2 separate regions of the Homo sapiens genome follow, and region 2 is linked to region 1. The links are contacts of gene promoters, found by promoter capture Hi-C in blood cells and fetal thymus (Javierre and others, 2016). All regions are on one chromosome and are shown on one strand. Each heading gives the region's core, a stretch centred on a gene start or on the middle of the fragment in contact. The rest is flanking DNA. Distances are from core to core; before and after follow the strand shown.

The links. Contacts are between HindIII fragments. The CHiCAGO score rates a contact against its expected background, and 5 or more counts as called.
Region 2: a contact is called between a fragment that was not itself captured here and the fragment with the promoter of PATJ in region 1, in 1 of 17 cell types (total CD8 T cells). The highest score is 7.3, in total CD8 T cells.

Annotation. Positions count from the first base shown.
Region 1 is chr1:61,741,230-61,746,071 of GRCh38, reverse strand. PATJ (PATJ crumbs cell polarity complex component) reads right to left here and starts at 3,592. Exons shown (of 44, transcript NM_001350145.3): 1 at 3,517-3,592. It overlaps PATJ-DT (PATJ divergent transcript), which reads left to right and starts at 3,288. Exons shown (of 1, transcript NR_185910.1): 1 at 3,288-4,074. RefSeq lists a silencer at 3,131-3,840. The HindIII fragment of the contact is 6,850 bases long and covers 1,921-4,842 here.
Region 2 is chr1:61,077,077-61,081,918 of GRCh38, reverse strand. It overlaps a transcript of NFIA not described here. Among named protein-coding and RNA genes, the nearest start is that of NFIA, 3.1 kb to the left of the region's middle. RefSeq lists a silencer at 1-82. The HindIII fragment of the contact is 445 bases long and covers 3,370-3,814 here.

The sequences.
Region 1 (4,842 bases), core at 2,343-4,842:
CTGAGGTTGTGACGCTGAGCCAGGACAATCGCTTGAACCCAGGGAGGTGAAGTTTGCAGTGGGTGGAGATCGCGGCACTGCACTTCAGCCTGGGCAACAGAGTAAGGCTCTGTCTCAAAAATAAATAAATAAAATAAATGAATAAAAATTTTTAAAAAAAAAAATAATTGCCAGGCCCGGTGGTTCACGCCTGTAATCCCAGCACTTTGGGAGTCCAAGGCGGGTGGATCGCCTGAGGTCAGGAGTTCGAGACCAGCCTGGCCAGCATGGTGAAACCCCATCTCTACTAAAAATATAAAAATTAGACAGGTGTGGTGGCAGGCGCCTGTAATCCCAGCTACTTGGGAAGCTGAGGCAAGAGAAGCGCTTGACCCTGGGAGGCAGAGGTTGTAGTGAGCCAAGACAGCGCCATTGCACTCCAGCCTGGGCAACAGAGCAAGACTCCGTCTCCAAATAAATAAATTAATTAATTAAAATAAAATAAAGTAAAATAATTTTGGCTAGGTGCAGTGACTCACGCCTGTAATCCCAGCACTTTGGGAGGCCAAGACAGGTGGATCACTTGAGGTCAGGAGTTCGAGACCAGCCTGGCCAATATGGTAAAACCCTGTCTCTACTAAAAATACAAAAATTAGCCAGGTATGGTGGCACATGTCTGTAATCCCAGCTACTCAGGAGTCTGAGGCAGGACAATCACTTGAACCCGGGAAGTGGAGGTTGCAGTGAGCTGAGATCACCCACTGCACTCCAGCCTGGGCAGCGGAGCAAGACTCTGTCTCAAAATAAATAAATAAATAAATATTTAAAAAAATTATCTGATCTCCCTTGTCTGATTGTAGGTCATAAGACCCCCATAAGAAGGGGTCCTGCCCATACCCTGGAGGAAGGAATGCTACAGAGAGAGGCCAAGAAAAATCTGAACAGATAGGCATTGCTGGGTTTCCCTACCCCATGCTTCAATTATGTCTACTCAATGAAGTCTCCATAAAAAGCCCAAGAAGATGGGGTAGGGAGAGCTTCTCAATATCTGAACACATGGAGGTTCCTGGAGGGTGGCATGCCCCTTCTCATACCTCACCCTGTGCATCTCTTCCTCTTGTATCCTCTGTAATATTCTTAATAATAAACTAGTAATAAACCTAAATAAGTGTTTTCTTGAGTTCCGTGAGCTGCTCTAGCAAGTTAACCAACCCAGAGGAGGGAGTTATGGGATTCCCAATTTATAGGTGGTTAGTCAGAAGCCGGGGTAAAACAATCTAGGACTTGTGATTGGCATCAGAAGTGAGGGCAGTCTTATGGGATCTGACACTATCCCCAGGTAAATAGTTTCAGAATCGAACTGTTAGATGCTCAGCTATTGCTTGATGCAGAACTGATGGGCCCACACATTTATTTGGTCACAGAAGTCCTCAGTGTTGACTGTAGTGGTGTGAGAGCAGAGGAAAAAGTTTGTGTTTTTTCTCTTACTCCTAATAGGATCTGGACTAGTAAGGGCAAATCTCTTCAGAACTCATTTTATAAGTTCTATCCATAAGTATTTCCATATTTATTAACTTTGTTATTATCTTTGTGAAAGTTGCAGATACCAGGTCAAAATCACTTTTTGTCAAACCCAAACAAACTAGAGAGCCTGAGGGAGAAAGCTCATGCTTGCAAGTCTGAGATAAAGATCGGTCTCAAGAAGGAACTAAAATAACCACCCAAGAAATTCTTTCTTTAGGAATGCAGTAATTCAGATAAGATAAGATAAGATAATCTTTTTTCCTTTTTTTTTTTTTTTTTTTTTTGAGACAGGGTTCTTGCTCTGTCACCCAGGCTGGAGTGTAGTGGTGCAAACACCACTCACCACAGCCTCCATCTCCTGGGCTCAAGCAATTCCCCTGCCTCAACCTCCCGACACACCTGACTATTTAAAAAGCTTTTTCTGTAAAGACAGCCATGTTGCTCAGGCTGGTCTCCAACTCTTGGCCTCAAGCGATCCTCCTGCCTAAGCCTCCTAAGTAGCTGAGATAACAGGCATGAGGCAGGTTGCCAGGCCTGATAAGATGCTCTCCATAACACCTGCCCAGTAATGGCATCTTCAACAATGGCCAACTCTGGCTTTCAGTCTGCAAAACCAATAAACTCTGTTTTCACGCAGCTTATCTGCACTTACTTTGCCAATAAAAGTTTCCTTTTACCCTCCCCTCTTCCATGCATATATGGCTTGCCAGGCCTGTGCACCTCGGGCTATAACGCTCATTTCTCATTCCCAAATAAATTCAACACATTTGGAGTGTTTTGTTGTTGTTGTTATTGTTAACATCTTAAAGGCCATTAGGGGCCCTAAAAACATCAAAGCTCACTTTAGCTAAAAGGCTCAATCTCACCTAACATTTTCTAATGCTGCAAACAGATTTAAGTTTTTAACCGCTGCCCCTGCCTCCACTCCTTTCAAATAGATGTGTGCAAATTAATTTGCAGCCAATAGGAATTTAGCCCAGAATGTGGTAGTATCATCCTCAGTGGAACCGACATTGTCCTTCTGGGTTTCCAAAGGCTTCTGCCTTCCTTTAAGAAACACTTGTCGCGCACCTACCAATAGCCAGACCCTAAATGCAGTCGAAAAATAAGGCCCTGAAAGGGGCACCCTCTAAATGGCAGAGGCAAGCCAGTAAACAACCAACTGGAATTCAAAGTGACAAGAGCCACTTGGAAATATGACAAAGTGCCAAGTGAAGGGGTGTTCACTTAATTCGGCCTGCGTGCGGGACGGCTGGGGCGCTTTGGAGAGTGGGAGTGATCTGAAAATGCTTTCCTGAGCTTGATTTAAAAGCAGGAGTCCAGGAATTTCCCCTAAGGCTGGAAGCACTTTCCGACAGAACCTCCCCATCTACGCAGCAAGGCTGGCAGAGCCCAGGGCCTGACCGCTGGCTTGGGAACCTCCGCTACGGGATGACCAGGCGCCGCGACGCGGCCGGGCCCAAGTCGCCCCCTCAGCCCGGCTCTGAGCACCCCCTCCTCTTTGTCCCCTCACCCCGTTCCCTCCTTCCACGGCCACCGATGGAGGGAAAGACTCCGCCCAGCTCTGGGAGCGAAACAGGGGCACCGATCTGGGCGCAAAATAGGATCCGTGCCACCCCCGAATACCAGTGGGCCGAGATTCGAGGCCCGAAAGGCCTGGGGAGGCGGGGCGGCGCCCCTCCCTGCCCGCGGCCTCGGCGAGCCCTGCGCGGCGGGGCGGGGACCACCGTGGGGTCACCCGGGCCCGACGCAGGAGGACGGCGCCCCCGCCCCGCCTCCCGGGTCAGCGCGGACGCACGCCGCGGGCGCCCCATCCTCGCCGCGGCCCCTCTGAGCGCCCGGCGGCGCCCTCCACCTCCGGCTCCCACCCACTCCAGGCGGGCGGGCGGGGAGAGCGCGGGGGCAGGGCAGGCAGGCCCGGGAAGCCCCGAGGGAGCTGCCCCCGGCCGGCCTCCAGGCGCGGGGACACCCAGGGGCGAGCGCGCACTGCACAGCCGGGACCTCACGCTTTACCTGGTGCGCTGGAGGAGCAGGTGGGAGCCCGGGTCGGGCGGGCTCGGTGTCGGCCCTGCCTCACCTGGGCGGAAGTGAGAGGCCCAGGGTGACCGCGCCTCACCTGGCAGGCCCTCCCCTCGCCCCGACTCTCCCCGCCCGGGGCGGGGCACCGGGGTGGCGCAGGGGGCGGGGGAGGGAGCCCGGGGCCGCGGGAGGCGGGCTCCAAGGAGGGAGGACGGTTGCCCTGGCTGTTTACGTGCAGGTGAATTCCTACCGGGCGCGGGATGGCCAAGGGCCTGGGAAAAGTGGGCTGTGGGGGCGGGGTGGCGGATCAGACCGCGCGTGGTGGGGACAGCCGCCACTGACGGGGAGGGAGATCCGGACAGACCGGTGTGGTTGGAGGCCTGCGTGTAGAGCGAGACCCAAGATCAAGGAAATTGAGGAGGATATCGATGAAAGCGTTGGGTCAATCCGCTTAACACTTTGTCTTTTTGCCCCTTTCCTTTCCTGTTCTCTCATCCCTCCTTTGTTTTCTCTATTCGCTGACGCAAAATAAAATATTCTAAAACGTGTAAATGTGGGAGTCATTATTTTCTTCTCATTTAGTGGAAGAAAGAAATCCAGCAGTATTTGCCTGCTGTATGCTAGGTGCTAGCTTATGCAATGTCTCATTTACTCTCTGAAGAAACTAATGAGGAAACCGTGCACCCTGTAGGTTGACTGGCCCAAAGTTTGGAACACAGGCAAGGCATTTTGACTCTAACTACAGTGATGATTTCACTATACGTTAATTTTCTTTTATTTGTGATGTCACACCTTCGAGAAAAATATGTCCCGATAGCCTTCTTCCACTCCCTTTAATAACTTTAGGCTTTTGATGATAGGGGTTTTACTTTGCCTGATACAGTCCACACATTAACGATAAAGAGAATCAATCTTCAGGTATCTTATTCATAGAGTACATACAGTAATTGTTAAACACTGTGATTGATTGTGGGAAGATGTGTAAAATGGTATCCCTGTCCCCAGGAAGATGAGGAATAGATACAAAACAACTACAACATAAAGACTTTCAGGCGGGGCGCGGTGGCTCACGCTTGTAATCCCAGTACTTTGGAAGGCCGAGGCGGGTGGATCACCCGAGGTCAGGAGTTCGAGACCAGCCTGACCAATATGATGAAACCCCGTCTCTACTACAAATACAAAAATTAGCCGGGTGTGGTGGATGCGTAGTCCCCTCTACGCAGGAGGCTGAGGCAGGAGAATCACTTGAACCCAGGAGGCAGAGGTTGCAGTGAGCCAAGATCCTGCCACTGCACTCCAGCCTGGGTGACAGAGAGAGAC
Region 2 (4,842 bases), core at 2,343-4,842, 660 kb after region 1:
GACCTCCTAGGTAACTTTTTTTCCCCCACTGAAATGCGGTAAGGCTCAAAGCATTGTAATCTCTCCAGCGAAGCTTTCTGTGGGAATAGATTCGTCGGCAGAGGTAATTATGCACACAATCCTGCAAACTTTGTGCAGCTTCGGTCCTGTGGCATTCAGAAGCGGGGGTGGTGAGGAATCAGTGCCCACAGAAGATTCACCGGATTTGGGGGGCGGGGGTCTGGAGAAAAGAAGGCGGAGATTAATGAGCGTTATCCCTCCCAGGACTGTGAAACTAGTGGGTTTGAACACAGACGCCATAGAAAAAGTTCTATCACGTTCAGAAACAACAGTGGTTTAGCTGTGACATCTTTTACTTTTTAGGAGGAAAAAAATATGTGAAAGGGATGTCCCCTTAGGGAAGGGAGATATTCTGATCCACAAACGCGTGCCCAGAACTGGACATAGGCTATCATTACCGTCCCAGTTTCTGGGACACCTCTGGAAGGGTGCCTTTTAAGAATCCCTTTTTTCCCTCCCCCAGGTAATAGTTCTTAAAATGGAAAAGAGCTTCCTGCAATTATTTTAGGTTTGCTAAAGTATTGTTTTGGCAGAAAAGAGGGGGGTGGTTTTTAGGGTTTGGCAAGTTGCCAGTAAGCCTGCTTTTCCAGTTTTTTTTTTTTAACCTCATATTTTCTCTCTAGGCTCTCCTCTCTCGGAGGGGGGAAAGCCTACCTGCCTCTTCTAAGCCCCCATCCCTTATTTTACTTCTCTTCCTCATGATGGTTTGCAAAATGCTGCATTTGACAACCCTTCTCAAAATTCCAAAAGGAAAGAGGTAGGTATCATGTTGAAAGACACTGGCACACAGGGGAATCTGCCCTTCGGTGGAGGTGACATAACCAGAGAGTCTCTAAAGAGGGGACATTCCTGTAGGAAAGTGAGGGTAAGTGATGTGTTAACAAGTGAGGGTGAGTGATGTGTTAAGGCCACTCTCATTCAGACTTCTTTTCAAAGCAAGGGGCAGGAAATACTGTACTGGAGAAAGAGCAAAAGAGAACCTCTGAAATAATTCTGCATCTGTCTAAAGTTATTTTATGCTTGTACTTTAGTTACTTTATTGCCAAAATAATTCCCGAATGCTCAAGAACCATTCTCTCTCCCACCCTCCCTCCTGAACATCCTTGGAAATCTCTCAAGATTATTTACTAAGGAGTGAGGAGAAATAATGATTTCAGCCTTTAATGAGAGAGTCCATTTTCCCAAACTTAACCCACTGCTTTTCCTTGGTTCCTCTCAGATTTTAGTAGGGGAGGAATGTCCTAAAAGCCAAGCTGTGTTACAGAGACAACATCCCTGGCCACGAGAACCTTTGCTGGGATCTATAACTTCAATGCGCTCCAAGTTTCCTCGATAGAAGTTTCTGGCTGACGGTCCCAACATGTAACTGAGGCACAGTGAAAAGTTATTGTTCAGAGTGTGTACTCGGGAAGCTCTCTTCCAGAGCAGATTAAAATCTTTCTTTTGGTGTATTAAAAGATACACTTCACATCTGCCTATTTTCAAAACGGCAAAGATTCTTACTTTTGAGTCTCAAGGAAAAAAAAGATTTTTTTTAAAAAGGACTGGCATGTCGCCCTGTTTTTTTTTTTTAATGGGGGAAGTAATTTAATGCTGATATTTCTACTTTAAAAACTTCTTTTGTTGCAGCAGTGGATGTGCCCCGCGATTTCCAGCTTTCTGCGGTTAGCAATATTATCTTAAGTAACTTTTGGCGCCCTTCGTAAGACTTTTGGATATGGGACGATTGTTTGCGCCCTCTAGGCAAGGGCTGGATCCAAGTTCAGCACCAAAGCCCTTCACATCCGCTCCTGCTTTCTCTCCTATCTCCGCCAGCTCCCGCTCCCTCCCCCGCGGAGGGAGGGGGGGAGGCGGGGGAACACTACAAAGCACAGTTCCAACTACAGCCTTTGGAAACAAGACTGAGAAAAATACAGTAGAAGAGTTACAGTTACAGAAAGGCTTCTGGTAACTTTCTCTCCAACAGGCATAAATTTAAACACACGCACAAAGAAACAGATGTTCCTCAAAGGGCAGACTGGGGGTAAAAAACATTTCCAACCCTCTCCCCTCTTCCCAAGTTGCAAAAGTAAATCCTTGTCCAGAGTTCACAAAGATACTAAGGCACTTGAGAGAGAGCAGGGATGGAGGAGGAGGGAAGAAAGAAAGGATAGTAGAGAGAGCAGTGGAGGAAACGCAGGTGAAGTATGGAAACTAGTTCACTGCAATCATATAAATGACCCATTGTTAGGAAGGATAAACCCCTTATTGGAAATAACCTCTCCAATCATTTATTTTCCAAGTGGTAGGAGGCTGCCTTGAAATGGGATTGTCTCTGCGCAAAGGAGGCTCCTGTCATGCTCTCTGCTATCCATATTCTTCCTGGCACAGAGCCCAGCCTTGCATTTACTGTGTTTTATTTGCAGAAACGTTACCTTGCCAGCTTTAGTGAAATCCTCTTAGATATATAAATTACGTCAATAAGGTTTCACTTATATGTACATCTCAAATAGCTCTCATTTTGGAGGTTACTTAATAGGGAGATCTTATTAATATGATTTAGATTTTAATACCCAAAGCAGTGAAGATAGGACTGGGATTCATAAGCGACAACACCATAACTCTGTAGTTCTTACCAAAACTAACTTTATTAACTGGCATTTTTCAACATTTTTTCTTCTCTGGTTTTTGACCTGCTGGTCACTTCTGTGCAGATTTTTCTTATGTGCATATAATCCTAAATTGAATCATGTTGCTGAAGTGAGTGTCCAAGTGAATTCTTACATCAAATTTCCAAGCCAGATTTGACTGGAAGGCCTAAAGCCTTGGGAAATAGCTCGATGGGAATTTAATCCAAAGAAGGGAAAGAGCCCATATTATTTTCCATTCACTTCCCAACAGAATTGGGTGTCTACGCTGCTCAGAGAGGAGGAGATGGAGATATTTTAGTCAGAGGCTGCCAGTTACTGTCTCCAAGACAAGCTACTGCAGTTGGTTTCCACTGGATTTGTATCAAGCACTTGTCCAAGAGGCCAGACTCCAACTAACAGTTAGCAAGTCAGCGATCTTCCATACACTCTCCACGGGGGTTGTTGTGGTAACAAGGAGAAACGTGAACTTGGCCAGTCTTAACGTCCTATTTCCTACTGACCATATACTTAAAAAGCAGAATTCAAGAATAGCCAAGAAAAAACACTCCCCTAATTTCTTTCAAGTGTGTAAGACAGCTGCTAGTCCACATGTGAAACATTCTCTCCTTTAAAACTGTTGTTTAGAGTTCAAGAAGAGAGGTTTACCTATTAATTTCAAAGTACTTGAAATGCCAAAGCTTCTAAGATAATCAGAGTAAGAAGTTTTGTAATGCTGAATACGCAATATATTACTTCCCAAAGCTCACTACAGTCCCACAATTCAGGCAAGATTTAAGCCACACGTTTCTTAAAGTTGAACTTCACATTCCACAAGTTACCAGCTTCCCTGAGCATAAAAATAATAGCTAATGCAAAGTTAATAACAATACAAAGTTATTTCTCTAGCAGAATGTTTCTTTTTCCAAAAGACAAGGAAGAAGGCACACGATTCATGCAAAACTCCCCCGATCAGCTTTTTTTTTTTTCTTAAACGCGAAAATTCTTTCCTATTGTGCTTGCTAAATCCGGAAGCGCTTGTAGCTTTGACAGCTTGAACCACACCATCCCCTTCAGAGCTGCAGAGAACTTCAGATCTCCTCTGCCCCGCCCCCTCTGGCTATTGAGAACTATTGTACACCCAAGCTTCCTTATGATTGGATAAAGCTTTTGTCAATCTCCCAAGTTGTCCCATTGATTAGAGGATCAAATCGTCAATTATTCTCCGGGTCCAGACATTTCTTTTCGGGTTAGGTTGACTGCTGAGGCCAGACGTCTTTTACAGAACAGAGCACGTACAGGATTTCCCCCCACCCCTTTCTGGAACCGAGCAAGCGCTAGGAGGAAAAAAAAATCTGTCAAGCTCAGCAATTTTTTCAAATCCCGAAAAAAAAAAAAAAGAAAAAGAAAACCCGGTCTCTGATGCACATAGCAAAAACACCATCAACAAAGCTACATCTTTAAAACAAAACCATCACAATAGACATTTACCCAGCAATCACTTAAGTGCATATGCGAGCTAGAGAAATTTTAGTCTTAGCCATTAAACAAAATCATTCTACCATTGTTTATAAAACGCATATCATATAAATGCAAAATAGAAAGTTTAAGATGTACCACGTACCATTGCAATGTAAAAAGAGTACGTGAGAAACTTTAAAATGCTCAGACGAATTGCTTCATTTGTTGTCCCCTTTTTTTTGCATTTAAAAAATATCTAAATAAACTTGGAACCGTTGAAAACCCGGAAGAGATTTTTTAAAAAGCTGTTGGCCAATTGCAGGCTTCTTGGAGAATTTTTTTTTTAACTCCAAATCAGAAGGCTTTTGCAATTGCAAGGCGCGCTCTCTCCCTCTCTCACTGTCTCGCTCTCGCTCGCTCGCTCGCTCGCTCTCACTCTCTCTTTTGAAAGCGATCCAACCCGGGCTGGCTGGTTCTCAGATTCGCTCTGGTTTTGCCTTGCGTGCTTTGGATTGTACGAGACTTTGCAGAAGTTGCAATCGATTCGGCAGTCCCTCTCTCCTCTCCCAACTCCCTTGTTTATTTCCGCAATCGCTGCAATTTGCATAGTAACCACGCACGAGGTACCGGCGGCAGCCTGCGGCGGAGGGGGCAGGGAGGGGGCAGGGAAAAGGCCTTGCCCCCTTCTCCCCTCCTCCAGTCTGTCTCCCCGCCA